Regions from separate parts of the Homo sapiens genome. Here regions 1 and 3 are each linked to region 2. The links are contacts of gene promoters, found by promoter capture Hi-C in human tissues and cell types (Jung and others, 2019). All regions are on one chromosome and are shown on one strand. Each heading gives the region's core, a stretch centred on a gene start or on the middle of the fragment in contact. The rest is flanking DNA. Distances are from core to core; before and after follow the strand shown.

Region 1 (3,804 bases), core at 29-2,528, 400 kb before region 2:
CTGAGTGTGATACTAACTAGCCTCAAGGTTCCAATTTGAAACACGATGAAATAGTGTTGTCTGCTTCGAAAATCCCATCCCAAGTTTGGCATAATGGAAGTTAAATGGCCCTACCCAAACAGGTGGAAATAACAGAGTAGGCCAGGTGGAGGCGCTGTTTGAAAGTACTATCACACCTACATACATGGTGCTGATATAAGTACGTAGGTACAGCTAAAAAAGAACTTATATATATATATATATCATATATATATATATCATCTGTCCTTTGGTTAATGGCTATAGCTACTGTTTTAAACAATATACTTTTATATAAAAAGGAATTTGTATAATCCCAGAAAAATCAATTTAAGGATTAATATTAATTCAAGAAAGAATCCTGCCATAGGCAATTTTATTTACTAATTGATTAAGTCTTTTCTCTAAATATCTATAAAGCTCTGTAGCAATTAAACAGTTAGACATCTAAGTATTGCTGAGTAGAAACCTCTTATGTTCAGCCTTCTGAAATAAATGGTCACATACCTGATATATAGCACTATTCTAACAGCAACAAGAAGGCCTTAAAGAGATTTTAAGAAAAATAATTTTTAATGCTTCAATGCAAATGGAGTACACGCTGATTAAATACAACTCAATGTTCTTTGAAAACATCTCAATGACAGCGTTTGATACCAGTTAAGGCCAGCAAAATTGTACTGAGGAAAATATTATTACATGTACTGTCTTTCATTGGTTTCATGTATCATTGCTTATGACTATGGCAACCAAATCTTTTCTTTGACAACTGCATTTATGGGAACTGATGAGCTTTGATTTATGAGCTTTGATTTGCTTTTAGTTCATAGGCCAATAACAAGTGCTGACCACCTCCTCTTGGTAGTGCTGTCTGAAATAACTGGCAAAGTAGAAGCACATTTCCTGGCTCCTTTTCCCACTTCCTGAATTGGAGGGTTCACCACCTTAGCCTGTTTCCTTTCGTGTGTCACTGTGGTCCTGGGTCCTCTGCTGCTTTCTCTCAAGGAAACGAGCCCGTGCATCAGATATGGATTTGTCATCATTTCTTCTTTGCATTTTCTTTAAGACGTCTTTCGATATTCCATCTGAAAACATTACAAATTAATCCAATAAAACTTAGCTTTGAGATTCAGTACTAGAAATGTTAAGAGAAAGAGAAGCCCTGATTTTTCAGTGTTAACAAAGTAAAAACAATAAAGAGAAAAATTAAATTTTGCCCTTTCAAAAGCAATGTAGTCTATGGTTACAAAATTAAGAGCACCAAGGCCAATGAGTCAGAAAAACTGACCCTAATTCAAGCATGTGGCAGTGTTATTACACTGTAATAGAACACCTAGTGGCTAAGATTTCTTTTCTTTTTTTTTTTTTTTTTGAGACGGAGTCTCACTCTGTCGCCCAGGCTGGAGTGCAGTGGCGCAATCTCGGCTCACTGCAAGCTCTGCCTCCTGGGTTCACGCCATTCTCCTGCCTCAGCCTCCCGAGTAGCTGGGACTACAGGCGCCCGCCACCACACCCAGCTAGTTTTTTGTATATTTAGTAGAGACGGGGTTTCACCGTGTTAGCCAGGATGGTCTCGATCTCCTGACCTCGTGATCCGCCCGCCTTGGTCTCCCAAAGTGCTGGGATTACAGGCGTGAGCCACCATGCCTGGCCTCCCTAGTGGCTAACATTTCTAAAGATTTTTCTATGATTTATTCGGCAAAACTCTTCACCATTCCATTTTGCAGTGATGTCAAATAAAGAAAATACAATATGCTTCATCATTCAGCCTCAAAAAGCTTTACTAAGAAGTTTTCTGTGTATGTGAGCTGAAAAACTTTCTGTCCTATTTCAGTACCACAACTATTTATGCCTCCCAACCAGGGTCCTAATTATTTCATAGAAAAAGCCCCTTGGATATACAAACTTAGCCAGGCGTGGTGGTGCATGCCTGTAATCCAGCTACTCAGGAGGCTGAGGCAGGAGAATAGCTTGAACCGGGAGGCAGAGGCTGCAGTGAGCCAAAATCACACCATTACACTCCAGCCTGGGCAATAAGAGCAAAACTCCGTCTCAAAGAAGAAAGAAAAAGAAAGAAAGAAAGAAAAAGCCCCTTGGAAACAAAGGGGATTCTGAGTTAATAATGCATAAATCATCACTTTTTTTTTTTTAGAGATAGTGTCTCACTCTGTCACCCCCAGGCTGGAGTGCACTGGTGAAATCACAGTTCACTGCAGCCTCAAACTCCTGGGTTCAAGCGATCCTCCTGCATCAGCCTCCCAAGTCACTGGGACTACAGGTGCACACCAACATGCCTGGCTAATTTTTATTTTTATTTTGCTAGAGATGGGATCTCACCACATTGCCCAGGTGGGTCACAACATTTTTATAAACAAAAATAGTGAAGTACTACTGGGAAGCAGTATGGCATAGTGGTTAAGAGTAGAACAAATGATTTACTCACCCTTTAGCTGCTTTACATTTTCCTTATTTGTCCATCTCCTTCTTGCATCTTCTCTCACTTCACGTCGGGCCACACTGCTCAAATCATGTGCATTAAATTCATGCAACTTGGGTAACAAGTCTCTTACCCATTCATAACGGATTGGGCATACAATTCTTGCGTAGACTTTGGTGGTAACCAATACCTCATGAAAAATGATCCATTCAAGTTTGGTTTCCTGTTCATGAAGCTATACAAAACATTTCTTTTAATGATGGTAACTCAATAACCTGCCCTATTCCACATTAAACCAACCAAATAGTCCAAATCCTTCTCAATTAATTCCTATCTTCTTCAAACAGGAGGCACAGGCCAACCAATACCCTTATAGATCTATGTAATATAGATATATGTAAATTTAACTCCAAAGTGAAAAGTAGAAGACATTTGTATATTACTTATTTCTACAACTTTACAAATTTCTTCCCTTTATTAAAAATGAAGTACTTACTGCTGAGGAAGGATGAATGTGAACTGGGCTTCCACGACCATCCATTGTGCAAAACGTTCTCCCAACAGATCTATAAACAGAAAAACAAAATGATAAAGACTACAACAGTAAAGCAATGAAGTAAATGGAGCATTACATTCAGCAATGAACAATTACAATATGTTCTACTACAAACAGCATTATAAGCAGAGGTTTACATTTATTCAACTGTCACTACAAGCTCTCTACCAATTCATCTTAAATTAATTATACAGGTTAAACAGTCACTACAATTAGGTATAAGTCACTACAATTAGGTATAAGGAATCAGTACAAATATTAACAATAATCTATGAGCTTTGAGAGCCAGGAACTTTATTAAAAAGTCAAAACTAAAATTCAAATAAATTAGCTAGACTTCTCAAGATCACCAGCGCTAACGCATGGTAAAACCAAGTCCTAAACAGTTCTTCTGACTTAAATATGGTTTCTTTATGTTATACTATGCTGCATCTCTTTTTAAAGGGATGATTTTTTCACTACTCTAAAACTTGACAATTAATCTATCATTTTTCCGATTCATGCCCTTATTTTCTTCTACATTACCCTACCTAAATGTCATTCCAAAAAACTTGTCAAAAAAATAAACCTAGTTCATTTGTCATAATTTATTTCCTATAGTACTTTGTATATATTCATAGTATAACCCAGATCAGACTGCACTGTAATTATTCACTTACATATCTGTACCCTCCATTAGACTCAGGTATCATCAAGAATGATGTAAGGACTCATGTTACTCTACTTTTCTATTTTTAGTACCTGCCCAGTGTTTGGCATACAGAGGGTAACCAAGATATACCATATTTTTAAA
Region 2 (3,514 bases), core at 82-2,581:
GGAAGGCTGTGGGTTCCTGCCCACACTGTCATCGAAACCTTTCTTGCTTAGAACTAGCTCCACATGCTGCCATAGGAATTCCCGAAGAGTGAAATCCACTAGCTGGCCTGAAGAACTGGAACTGCTGCTGTCAATGTGAAAGGAAAGTTGTTGTCGGCTGTGCTGCCTCATCACCTGGTATCGCCTAGGCCCAGAAAGGGGTGCAGGCACCAGCAAAGATTCCGGGTCCTTCACAGTACAATGACTCCTAAGTTGGTCCAGCAACATACCTACTGGGTCCTCCTCCTGGCTTCCCGGTACTATGTACACGAAAGCTTGGTTGGCAGGCACAGTAAAGAGGCAGTTGATGCTCTGATTAGTCAAGACACGACTCTTCCGGAAGATTCTATAGATCTGGTCCTCCAGGGCATGCTGCAGCCTCCTTTTGGGAGAATGTTTCTTGGGCTTGTCTGGATGAGCTGGGTCTTGGTTCCGAGGAGGTTCTACCTTGAGGGCTCCATTGAGTTGAAAGAGGAAAAGGAGTCTAGGTGGGCAAGGTCGGCAGTTTAGCTTCCAGTCTTTGCCAACTGGACAATCCTTAATGGCTGTTTTAAGGAGCGGCAGGACCTTCTGTCTCAGCCCATCCAGGGCTCTGAATACTCGATCATAAGTGATATCAAAGGAACAAGTGGGATGGACCAGAAGCAAGATATGACAGACAGAGAATAGGTAAAGGAGACTGAGGCACTGCAGCTTCTCTTGATGCTTCCAGAACTCGTGTGCTTCTGCATGAGGTAAAGAGAGTCCACCTCCAGCTTCCCCGCTCTGAAGAGCCCGACAAGCCCGGAGAAGCTGTGAATTGTCACAGATGGAGGTGAGGAGAAGATACAGAACTTTGCTTTCCTGACTGTAGTAGGCCTGCAGAAGGCTGTAGTCCTGGGAGCCTGCCTCAGTTCGGTTACCTTCCGCGACAGCTCCACTTCCCCGAACTGAACCCCCGGCTGCAGCCCCAGGGTCCTCGGCTCCACCGGCCTCACCCACGGCGCCAGCCTCAGTTCTGATTCCAGGTCCTGGATCCCCAGGATCTTGGTGGCGAAAGAGAGGAAAGACCTGTCGGTCGCACACCGTATTCACAAGAGAGAACTTCTCGGAATTCAGGCGTAGAGCCGTCTTGCCGAAGATTCCCACAACGCAGATCTCATCCTCCCGCCATGGAGGCTCCGGTCCGCCAGCCGCGCTCCCTCCGCCCTCAGTAGGGGACCCTCCGGGACTTTCAGAGCCCATCCAGGCTGATGCTCCCATTAGAAGGTCTCGCAAGCTCACGGGACCAGCCATAGTGCAGAGCGTTCTCTAGAGTCCTTCCGGTCCGTTAGTAAAACCGACCGGCTTTCGTCCAATTTTGAAATCCTTCCTCCGCTTCTTCAGTTCCTGCTTTCCCGTCACTTGAGTTCCGCCTCCTCTTCTCCTCTCCTAGTTTGTTTCCTCAACTGTAGGAATTGAGATATCAAAAACAAAAAACAAAAAAACAAAACAAAACTGGGACTACTGCGGTGGCTCACGCCTGTAATCCTAGCACTTTGGGAGGCCAAGGCGGGCGGATCACCTGAAGTCAGGAGTTCGAGACCAGGCTGGCCAACATGGTGAAACCCCATCTCTACTAAAAATACGAAAATTAGCCGGGCGTGGTGGCGGGCGCCTGTAATCCCAGCTACTCGGGAGGCTGAGGCAGGACAATCGCTTGAACCCGGGAGGCGGAAGTTGCAGTGAACCGAGATCACACCATTGCACTCCAGCCTGGGCAACAAGAGCGAAAACCGTCTAAAAAAAAAAAAAAAAAAAAAAAAAAAAGCAAAAATTAGGCGTGGTGGCGCATACCTGTAGTTCCAGCTGCTCAGGAGGCTGAGGCAGGAGAATTGCTCGAACCAGGAGGTGGAGGTTGCAGTGAGCCGAGATCACCCCGCTGCACTCCAGCCTGGGCGACAGAGTGAGACTCCGTCTCAAAAAAAAAAAAAATTGCGAAATATCTTTGTATGTAAATTATAACTTGCAGAACCTCTCTAACTAGAAGGCATATTGACAAATAGCTGCCAGGATAAAACTTACAACCAGATTTAAATGTATAATTATAACGTTTATTATTCTGGGGTTTTGTAAAAAATAAAAATCTTTGAATCTAAAAAAATTATCTATAGCACTATACAATAACATGACTGAATCTTTAAAATAAATGTTGATTGAAAGAAATCAGAAACAAAAGTGTATATACCCTATAATTCTATTTTTTTTTTTTTTTTTTTTTTTTTTTGGAGATGCAGTCTTGCTCTGTGGCCAGGCTAGAGTTCAGTGGCGCGATCTCGACTCACTGCAACCTCCGGCTCCCCGGTGCAAGTGATTCTCTTGCCTCAGCCTCCCAAGTAGCTGGGATTACAGGTGCGTGAGACCACACCCAGCTAACTTTTGTATTTTTAATAGAGACAGGATTTCACCATGTTGGCCAGGATAGTCTCAATCTCCTGATCTCATGATCTGCCCGCCTCGGCCTCCCAAAGTGGTGGGATTACAGGCGAGAGCCACTGCGCCAGGCCTGATTTTATTTCTATAGAGTTCAAAAGCAAGCAAAATAAACCATTGCATTTAGGGGTGTGTTCTTACTAAAAGCAAGGAAATATTTATTGTACCAAGTAGGTCAGTGATTACTTAGTGAGGGAAGGGATTATGATATAATATATATATTATATATATACATAATAATATATATTACACATATACATAATAATATATATTATATATATACATAATAATATATATTATATATATTTTGAGACAGAGTCTTGCTCTGTTGCCCAGAGTGGAGTACAGTGGTGCAATCTAAGCTCACTGCAAACTCCACCTCCCAGGTTCAAGTGATTCTACTGCCTCAGCCTCCCAAGGAGCTGGGATTACAGGTGCACCACCATGGGCGGCTAATTTTTGTATTTTTAGTAGAGATGGTGTTTCACCATGTTGGCCAGGCTGGTCTCGAACTCCCGACCTCACATCATCCACCCACCTCGGCCTCCCAAAGTGCTGGGATTACAGGTGTCAGCCACCACACCTCGCCTCCGGCCTAAAATTTTTTTTTTTTTTTTTTGTGAGACAGAGTCTCACTCTGTCACCCAGGCTGAAGTGCAGTGGTGCTATCTGGGATCACGGCAACCTCCATCTCCTATTCCCTGTCTCCGTCTCCTCAAGCAATTCTTCTGCCTCAGCCTCCCAAGTAGCTGGGATTACAAGCACGTACCACCACGCCCACCTAAACTTGTATTTTTAGTAGAGATGGGGTTTCCCCACGTTAGCCAGGCTGGTCTCGAACTTCCAACCCCAGGTGATCTGCCCACCCCGGCCTCCCAAAGTGCTGGGATTATAGGTTTGAGCCATCACGCTCGGCATTGATTTTTTAATTCATATATTTTCTATACTTACTATATACTTTTTTGTTTTTTTGAGACAGAGTCTCACTCTGTTGCCCAGGCTGGAGTGCAGTGGCGTGATCTCA
Region 3 (4,029 bases), core at 923-3,422, 290 kb before region 2:
GGGGTGGCGGCCGGGCAGAGACGCTCCTCACCTCCCAGACGGGGTCGCAGCTGGGCAGTGGTGCTCCTCACATCCCAGACGGGGCGGCGGGGCAGAGGCGCTCCCCACATCTCAGACGATGGGCGGCCGGGCAGAGACGATCCTCACTTCCTAGATGGGATGGCGGCCAGGCAGAGACGCTCCTCACTTTCCAGACTGGGCAGCCAGGCAGAGGGGCTCCTCACATCCCAGACAGGGCGGCGGGGCAGAGGCGCTCCCCACATCCCAGACGATGGGCGGCCGGGCAGAGACGCTCCTCACTTCCTAGATGTGATGGCGGCCGGGAAGAGGCGCTCCTCACTTCCCAGATGGGATGGCGGCCGGGCAGAGACGCTCCTCACTTTTCAGACTGGGCAGCCAGGCAGAGGGGCTCCTCACATCCCAGACGATGGGCGGCCAGGCAGAGAGGCTCCTCACTTCCCAGACGGGGTGGCGGCCGGGCAGAGGCTGCAATCTCGGCACTTCGGGAGGCCAAGGCAGGCGGATGGGAGGTGGAGGTTGTAGCGAGCCGAGATCACGCCACTGCACTCCAGCCTGGGCGCCATTGAGCACTGAGTGAACCAGACTCGGTCTGCAATCCCGGCACCTCGGGAGGCCGAGGCTGGCGGATCACTCGCGGTTAGGAGCTGGAGACCAGCCCGGCCAACACAGCGAAACCCCGTCTCCACCAAATAAATACGAAAACCAGTCAGGCGTGGCGGCGCGTGCCTGCAATTGCAGGCACTCCGCAGGCTGAGGCAGGAGAATCAGGCAGGGAGGTTGCAGTGAGCCGAGATGGCAGCAGTATCGTCCAGCCTCGGCTCGGCATGAGAGGGAGACCATGGGGAGAGGGAGACCATGGGGAGAGGGAGAGGGAGCACCCTTCTACTTTAAAAAGACGTTAAACCTTAACATCATATAATCCATATATTCCATACCTAGTCATTAGTTGCTATTTCACAAAAGTAAAGTCACCAACATGTCACTTATGTAATATTTATTTCTGTTCCACTGCCCCTGCCTGCAACTGTTTAGAAGCTCTTCCTATCCCTGTCCTTGCTTCCAACATTGCACACATTTTCTTCTCGTGCTTAAAAATAAATGTCAAGTTCTTGATCTTTTGTTAAAGATTCATTGCCAAAGATGGTTTCACAGCAGGAGCCTTCCTAGGGAGAGAGTTGGCTCACATTCCTGCTAAGAATGTAACCTGGGAATGATGGAAAAATAATTATAATCAATGTCAGAGAGCATATGGGTTTCTACCGAGAAGGCTGCCAAGTAGGACCTGCACTAATCCTTTCCATCCATTATCAGCCAGTTGACTCTAGCAGAAAAATTCCTCATATTTGGATAAATGAAAGTCCAAATCTCACACATATTTCTCCCACATCTGAGAGGTTTCTGAGTGAAACCAGTGAATGCCTTGCATTTCTGAAGCTTAGTTTCCATAAAACTACATTATTGTTTGTTTTCTTGTCTGTAAATGTGGGATTGCCTTATTTCTACCACATCCTTTAATGTAGGTGACCCACTAAGGTCAGTACACACATAGTGAAAGAAATGAGGCCATTCTAATATGTACATTGAAAAGAACCACATTTTAAAAGCTTTGTGCTGATGTGTGTTTCGGCTGGATATACCCCAACAGTATGTGTCGTTTTCTAAAAGAGGAATTATGCTGAGTTAATTAAGTGGAAGCAGAAACACCTGGTGCATATCATTATGGCATAAGGCCCTGGGTGATTTAATTAATATCTTTATTGTTACCAAGTGGCTTTCCAAGTATTTTTCCACTGAACTTATATTTTACTTTGCCCTCCACCCTGCTTCTCTTCAGATATATGCCAGGTGGTATATAGTTCCTTTTTTTTTTTTTGAGACAGTCTAGCTCTGTTGGCCGGGCTGGAGTGCAGTGGTGTGATCTCAGCTCACTGCAACTCCTGCCTCTCGGGTTCAAGCGATTCTCGTGCCTCAGCCTCCCAAGTAGCTGGGATTACAGGCACATGCCACCAAGCCAAGCTAATTTTTGTATTTTTAGTACAGATGGGGTTTCACCATGTTGTCCAGGCTGGTCTCGAACTCCTGGCCTCAAGTGATCCACCCATCTTGGCCTCCCAAAGTACTGGGACTACGGGCGTGAGCCACCGTGGCTGGCCGGTATACAGTTCCTTTTAGGAGAGAATTTTGTCTCTGTAGAATCTCTGAATACAGGCAAACCAGACATGAATTTGAATTCTCCTTATAAGCTTCTGTGCTTAAAGGATTAGAGCAACTTGCCTCTTTTCTACATAGCAAAAAGATAAATTTCAGCCCGCCCTAAACCAACATTCTCTTATTTTCTAAGCATCAATAAATCAATAAACACAATAAATATGGCTTCTTGTTAAAAAAAAAACACAGAGTAGACAAAGCAGGGGCATTCTGATTTAGAATAGATGATTCTTCCAATATTTAGAACACCTCAAGCAAGGAGAAAAATGAACTGGAAATGAGGTTGCTGTTTGCTAGTATGGAGTTCCATTCGTAGATCTAGCACTCAACACAGATACAATAAATTGGGCAGCGGCCTCTCAGTCCTCTCTGCTCCAGTGGAAATATTCGGTATGGCTGTCCAGCTCTCAAGTCATATTCTAAAACAAAAACTTTAAAAGACGAATCATATATTGATATTGTGATGCCACTCAGCCATATAACTTGGCCCCAGATCCCACTGCTAGAGTTATAAAGATGAAATGATTTTTGGCTGGGAACAGTGGTCACACCTGTAATCCCAGCACTTTGGGAGGCTGAGGCAGGTGGATCACTTGAGTCCAGGAGTTTGAGACCAACCTGGGTAACATGGTGAAACCCTATATCTATTAAAAAAAAAAAAAAAAAGAGAGAGAGACTGGGCATGGTGGCTCAAATCTGTAATCCCAGCACTTTGGGAGGCTGAGGCAGGTGGATCACTTGAGCCCAGAAGTTTGAGACCAGCCTGGCCAACATGGTGAAACACCATCTCTACTAAAAATATAAAATTAGCTGGGTGTGGTGCTGTGTGCTTGTAGTCCCAGCTACTCGGGAGGCTGAGGCAGGAGAATGGCATGAACCTGGGAGGCGGAGCTTGCAGTGAGCAGAGATCGTGCCACTGCACTCCAGCCTGGGTGACAGAGTGAGACTCTGTCTCAAAAAAAATAATAATAATAAAGAAAGAAAATGAGGGATCTACCCCAATGCTGCATTATCAGCTTTCAGGAAGACTTGTATTTTACTTCTTATTCACCCGCCCTCCCACCTTACCAGCATATATCTATAAAACCTATGAAAACTTCAGGGTGACCAATATCCCTAAAATACACCTGGGTGCAATTCTGTATTTGTAGAGTAAAATGAGTCAGATATGGACATCCTCACACAGCAACTATTCAGAGGAGGATGAAAACCAGAACTCAAAGACTTAAAGCATTTTTAACTGAGAAAAAAAATTCTAGCTATATCTCTGCAACTGGTTTGACAGAACCTAGAAATCAAATTTGCCAAATACTGGTCCCATGTGTTTTGTGAGGATACTACGTATATCATCAAAAGGCTCCATAGTTCGTTTGGTGTGGTGGCCAAATAAGATTATAGAAGTTTTCTTTTTCTTGAGTAGGCAGTACTGTGCTTATTAATAATAAAAACACTTCACCCACTTGTTCAGTATAAAGGCAGGCTCTAACGCCCTAGTGAATTGTGTCGTCAAGTTTATTAGTAAGTTGATTATTTAGAAATCAAAATTCCATAAACCCAGTGGTATAAATGGTAGTTAAATTCCAAGCATAAATCCCAAATAGGATTGACTTCTAAGTCATGGGAGCAAAACCAAGGCTGAGTTCCAGCTGCTGGGAGTGAACACCTGTGCCGGTTCTTCTCCATTTATCATCTGCTCAGTGCTCTGGAAGGCCAGCTTCCTACAGACTGATTTGTTCACCTGGGCTCCCTTGCTGGCTGGCTTTCAGTTGGCTTCAGCCAAGAAGGGGCACAGACTAGAAA

Evidence for each region. The method cuts DNA at HindIII sites, captures the fragments that hold promoters and counts their contacts. A contact is called where the count stands out against the background at its distance.
Region 1: a fragment that was not itself captured here is called in contact with the fragment with the promoter of SMG8 in region 2 in 1 of the 25 tissues and cell types used here (dorsolateral prefrontal cortex).
Region 3: a fragment that was not itself captured here is called in contact with the fragment with the promoter of SMG8 in region 2 in 1 of the 25 tissues and cell types used here (dorsolateral prefrontal cortex).

The regions. Positions count from the first base shown.
Region 1 is chr17:59,604,332-59,608,135 of GRCh38, reverse strand. It overlaps DHX40 (DEAH-box helicase 40), which reads right to left. Exons shown (of 18, transcript NM_024612.5): 16 at 2,952-3,021; 17 at 2,462-2,690; 18 at 1-1,103. The coding sequence ends at 964. Among named protein-coding and RNA genes, the nearest start is that of CLTC, 14 kb to the left of the region's middle. The HindIII fragment of the contact is 7,902 bases long and covers 1-3,804 here.
Region 2 is chr17:59,207,852-59,211,365 of GRCh38, reverse strand. It overlaps SMG8 (SMG8 nonsense mediated mRNA decay factor), which reads right to left and starts at 1,331. Exons shown (of 4, transcript NM_018149.7): 1 at 1-1,331. The coding sequence starts at 1,314. RefSeq lists an enhancer at 1,453-1,522. The HindIII fragment of the contact is 6,268 bases long and covers 62-3,514 here.
Region 3 is chr17:59,496,315-59,500,343 of GRCh38, reverse strand. The region is part of intron 2 of LINC01476 (long intergenic non-protein coding RNA 1476); the gene reads left to right. It overlaps LOC124904040 (a long non-coding RNA gene), which reads right to left. Exons shown (of 3, transcript XR_007065867.1): 3 at 902-1,225. Among named protein-coding and RNA genes, the nearest start is that of LINC01476, 29 kb to the left of the region's middle. The HindIII fragment of the contact is 4,149 bases long and covers 98-4,029 here.